Linked DNA regions of Homo sapiens: region 2 is linked to region 1. Evidence: promoter capture Hi-C in human tissues and cell types (Jung and others, 2019). All regions are on one chromosome and are shown on one strand. Each heading gives the region's core, a stretch centred on a gene start or on the middle of the fragment in contact. The rest is flanking DNA. Distances are from core to core; before and after follow the strand shown. Region 1 holds the start of LYPLA1 (lysophospholipase 1). Region 2 overlaps ATP6V1H (ATPase H+ transporting V1 subunit H).

What was found. The method cuts DNA at HindIII sites, captures the fragments that hold promoters and counts their contacts. A contact is called where the count stands out against the background at its distance.
Region 2: a fragment that was not itself captured here is called in contact with the fragment with the promoter of LYPLA1 in region 1 in 1 of the 25 tissues and cell types used here (heart left ventricle).

Annotation. Positions count from the first base shown.
Region 1 is chr8:54,100,671-54,103,370 of GRCh38, forward strand. It overlaps LYPLA1 (lysophospholipase 1), which reads right to left and starts at 1,277. Exons shown (of 9, transcript NM_006330.4): 1 at 1,085-1,277; 2 at 238-269. The coding sequence starts at 1,153. It overlaps LYPLA1-TCEA1 (LYPLA1-TCEA1 readthrough), which reads right to left and starts at 1,277. Exons shown (of 21, transcript NM_001425842.1): 1 at 1,085-1,277; 2 at 238-269. RefSeq lists a silencer at 831-1,400. The HindIII fragment of the contact is 3,514 bases long and covers 52-2,700 here.
Region 2 is chr8:53,743,311-53,746,010 of GRCh38, forward strand. ATP6V1H (ATPase H+ transporting V1 subunit H) reads right to left here. Exons shown (of 14, transcript NM_015941.4): 13 at 267-380. Among named protein-coding and RNA genes, the nearest start is that of ATP6V1H, 99 kb to the right of the region's middle. The HindIII fragment of the contact is 3,769 bases long and covers 1-2,700 here.

The sequences.
Region 1 (2,700 bases), core at 27-2,526:
GGAATTTGAAATTTTAATATGTTCCAGAAACCAGAGTTAAAAAATCAATAAACTCACGATGATAAGGGGAAAATTCTGAGGGTTTTCAAAACATAAAATCACCGCACTGTAAGATACATTAACTGGCAATCTTAAAATACCATTTTAGCGCCCTTAAACATTAAACCTTTGAACGCGTAAACAAAAGTTGCATGACCCAGTTTCATTACTGTTACTATTAATAATAATGGTACCTACCCAGTATCTCCCAATCCATGCAGGAAAATCACCTATAAGAGAAGAGGAAAATTAATAAGCAATGCCTAAATAAGCCCACACAGGATTGTTACACACTAGCTTTGCTTAAGGTGGAAAACGGAACGAAACCTACGAGAGAATTACACAACACTATCTTCGGCGACTTAATCTTTATCGACCTCTTTTAAATGGCAAAAATTCTGATCAACTTCTCCCTTTATTTCCTGAGATAATGAATGGGGGGGGGGTAGCACTGAGAGGTCCCAGTTAGACATTGAGTGCAAATGATCACATTCTAAGAAAAACAGTTTATCTCTTTCAAGTGAAATCAGGAACATCTCACATATCCTGTAGAATTTTTCCACTGCAAAAGCAAGCTTCCGGAGGCAAAAATAAGTTTGACTTTTCATACACGAGTTTTCTAAAAAACAGTACGTCTGACCTTGTAGGACACTCAATCTTCAAACTTCTTTCATTGAGGATAAGAGTGCGAGGTGACAATAAGGCGATTTCCTGGCGGACTTAGGTTTCCCTCACCCACACACCAGGCAGAAACACGCTGCAGAGGCTGACGCCGTGCCCTAGGCCGGCCCGCGGGGGTCCCGGGGCCACACTTCCTCCGCAATGCAGGGAGGAGCTGGGGACTGGCCCTCGCGCCGGCTGTGACCCCCCGGCTGCCCCCGCCCCCCGCGGACCCGGCCGCGCGGACCATTCGCACCCCACCCGGGCCGGGAGGAGCGTCCTCGTCCGCAGGCCGCCACGCGCCCGCAACGCCCACCCCGCGCGAGGGGCAACCACCGGTGGCCGGCCCAGTGGACCCCTCCGAGCCCACGCCTACGCCACTCACCGCAGCGGTGGCCTTCCGGGCGGCGGGCACGATGGCGGGCAGCGGGGTTGACATGTTATTGCCGCACATACACCGCCTCAGCTCACAGCGCAAGCGGAAGGAAGAGCGGGCGCCCGGCCGCGGCCCAAGGGCGTGCGAGCGGCGAGTCCCGGCCGGCCCCACCGGGCGCACGCTCAGGCGCGTGCGCGCCAACGCGGCCCCGCGCTACCTTCCGCGCGCGCCCGCGCGTCCAGGGTCCGCCCTGCCCTGCCCCTCGCCCGCCGCCCCTCCCTCGGCACCTCACAATGTCCGGGCGGCTCCCTCCCTCCGATTGGCTGCGGCGGCAGCGCGGACCTGGCTGCGCTTTCGCCACACCACGCAGCCTGCGCATGCTCAGTGCTGGCTAGGGAAAATGTGCTCTCAGGTGCAGGCTGAGGGCTGGTCTCTTGGGTCTTGGTTTAGGTTTTTGCTTTTCTGGCGCTGTAGTGAAAAGAATGAGCCCCAGAGCCAATTCACCCAACCCAACCCCAGGTGCTCCTTGGTTTCCTGCGGCCGGGGTCTATCCATTTGTAAAAGTCTGGATGGACTGGGAGACGTTGATGGAGCTTTTGCAGTATTTCCGTTTGGGGCTACAGCAGTATGTAGATTTGGGTTCAACTTACCTTCTTTAAACTTTAGTTGGAAAGGGTAACATTTGTCACCAGAAATCCACTACTTCCCTAACTTGATCGACAACACTTACTGATGTACGGATATTGACACAGTACAGGTTTAAGTGAGAGGTAAAGCCAGCTGGTCTTCTGGGTCGGTTGGGGACTTGGAGAACTTTTCTGTCTTACAAGAGGATTGTAAAATGTACCAACAGCACTCTGTAGCTAGGATTGTAAAATGCACCAATCAGCACTTTGTGGCTAGCTAGAGGTTTGTAAAATGCACCAATCAGTACCCTGTAAAACGGGCTAATCAGTGTTCTGTAAAGTGGACCAATCCGCAGGACTTGGGCCGGGACAAATAAGGAAATAAAAGCTGGCCACGCCCCCCATCCCCTAGCTGGCAGTGGCAGCCCTGGGTCCCCTTCCACACTGTGGAAAGTTTGTTCTTTCACTCTTCACAATAAATCTTGCTGCTGCTGCTCACTCTTTGGGTCTGTGGGACCTTTAAGAGCTGTAACACTCCCAGCACTTTGGGAGGCCGAGGCGGGTGGATCAGGAGGTCAGGTGATCGAGACCATCCTGCCTTAACACGGTGAGACCTCGTCTCTACTAAAAATACAAAAAAAAAAAATTGGCCGGTCGTGTAGTCCAAGCTACTTGGGAGGCTGAGGCAGGGGAATGGCGTGAACCTGAGAGGCAGAGCTTGTAGTGACCTGAGATCGCGTCACTGCACTCCAGCCTGGGAGACAGAGAGAGACCTTGTCTCAAAAAAAAAAAAAAAAAAAAAAAAAAACTGTAACACTCACCACGAAGGTGACAAGCTTTATTCTTGAAGTCAGCGAGACCATGAACCCACCGGAAGGAACCAACTCTGGACACATAAGCATGAGACTAGACTGCCCTTTTCTGCACAGGTGCCTTTATGGCCTAAAATGTAGTTACTCAACAAATGTGTTGCATATCAACTACATGGTAAGATCTGGA
Region 2 (2,700 bases), core at 148-2,647, 360 kb before region 1:
TTATGTCACAGGGTCCTTTTAGTTACTTCTGGAGTCGTTTTTGAAATTATTATTTTGAATATACACTCCTTGAGACCTTTAGTGCAGTCCGTCTTTATAAAACTAATGTGTCATTGCTCTGAATTACTAAAATATATTTCTAAATTTTGAATCAAAATAACTAATTTTAAAAATGATCATTCAAAGCATTTGCATAAGAACTTTTAGAATGGCAAGTGAGAGTTTGCAGACTAATGTACAAGTGTGAGCAAAAAGCCGTGGCATACCAGTTGTGCACCATGAGCTTCTGCACGGCCAGCAGAGCATTATAGCGGACCTGCTGGTCTTCATGATGCATGTGGTTCATGACCAGCTGCTTCCCACCGAGCTGCTCGATGACCCTGCAAACGGGAGAGACGTGGTGAGGAAGATGCAATTACTCTCAAATTCACAGTTTGTAAGCAGGCAGCTCAAATACCAACACGCTAAAAAGGAAAGTAACAATGTACGTAAATAAACCAAACGTGTCTTTTTTTACATCATTTTCCCTGAACCATAGATTTACAGTATTCAAATACTTTCGTTTTTGAATTCCTAATGATAAATCCAACAGTTGTTCTCATTTCTCATCTCTAATCCAGAAACATATGATCTGCCTAGATACCACCCAGGCACTAGTATTTTAGATCATTGTTTTCTAAGTGGCTGAGTATTAACGTTTTTATTATCAGTATTTCTTGCTTGTTTAATATCAGTATTGAACACCATCTAATTTTCATAACAACATACAATCAATATCAAGCCCACCAGTGACCGTGCTGCGTGAAGATAGGGGCTTAGATGTAGATAGCAGGGAACAGGGGGTTAAAGAGCACCCATGCTAATTTCCTGGAAAAGACTACTGATTTTAAGATATCCACCCCTTTGTAATAACAATGGGATATGCCATGTGACTTGGGCAGTGAGACGAAGGAGAACATTCATATCTTCGAGACCACCGAGATGACTGACAACCGACACTGCTTTCTATCACCACACTTCCGACATCCTGAAAATCCACTTATTACAAACACAAAGGAAAGTAAAAATGGCTATTTCTTCATGCATAGAAATTGGTCCTCTGTTTCTTTGCAAAGGTGTGGTTACAGACAGAGCTGTGGAGTCTCAGCTTCCACACAACAGTGTGGACTGCCCTGTCCATTCTTCAGCCACCAGTCCTGTCTAGTGGAGGATACCTACAATATAGTCAGTGACAAGCGGCACCTTAATGCAGTACAGTGTTTGGTGGTTTAAGACAATCTCACAGATCAGTAATGTTTCTGGGGTCAGGAAGAAATAAGTAGATGGGGGTCGGAGTGAGAGGGAAGCTTTTATCTGCATACCTTTTCATATTTTATTCTTTAAAGCATGGTTTTAAAAAAAATGCACTGAACTGAGGGGAAAAAAAAGAACATAATGTAACTATCATCAAACATTAACTGAGTGCTTACTGCAGGCCAGGCACTGTACTTTAAAACATTATCTAATATATCAGCTCAGCCATTTATCAAACATGTTAATTAGACAAGTCCTTTACCTGGTAAATTCCTCCCTGACAAATAGGGAAGACAAGGACATCTTCACAGCGTTGCTGTGATGATTAAAGGACATAAAGCCTATGTCCCTGCAGGACACTAAGCCCAGCTGTGCAGCGATGATGATACAGGCTGCTCTCCCGCCTCCCATTCTCACTGTAGTCAAAGGAATCTTGGCAAAACTCTGCATATGATTTTTACTACTTAAAACAATTCAGTGGCTTCTACTTGTCTTAACAAAAGGACCCAGGCCAGGCACAGTGGCTCATGCCTGTAATCCCAGCACTTTGAGAGACCAAGCTGGGACAACTGCTTGAGCCCAGGAGTTCGAGACTAGCCTGGACAACACAATGAGATACTGTCCCCACAAAAAAATTAAAATAAAAAATTAGCCAGGCATGGTGGTGTGTACCTGTAGAACCAGCTACTTGAGAGGCTGAGGTGGGAAGATTGCTTGAGCCCAGTTCAAGGTTACAGTGAGCTATGATTGCACCACTGCACTCCAGCTGGAGCAACAGGGTAAGACCCTGTTTCTTAAAAAAAAACAAATAAAAATAAAACAAAGGACCCAAATCCTTAAAATAGCTGACAAGGTCCTTTCACAGTCAGCTTTGGAGCCCCACTGAGCTTCACAGAGCACGGTCACAGGCTGCTTGTTCTCTAGACTGCCTCTGAGGCCTGAGCTAGCAGCCAACAGCACCATAGCTCCTGGCTGAAGGAACCTTCTCTAACACACGAGTTTTCTCCATAGGCACGTAACAGCCCCTTCTTGTGCTTAGGAACATTACACAGCACTCCAGAAGGTTTGGGGGCCATTTTAAACAGGAAAATCACCACACACACACACACAAAAACCCCACAAAAATGCAAAAAAAAAAAAATATGGTACTAAACAGACCACGTAAAGGACGCTTGTTTCTAGCGTAAGAGACAACATGGGATGGCAGAACGCTGCCTTGTTCCCCCACAGCTGGGGATGTGTCCATTAGCGACTCCAATTATTCACCACTCTACACATGTCCATGGATAACTACAAAAGCGCCTCTAGTATTGACACAGCTGTTGAAAATAAACTTTTTAGTAGGTGGGCAAATTCACAATTCTGGAACCTGTGAATAATGAGGACCAAATACAATCTCAGAAAACT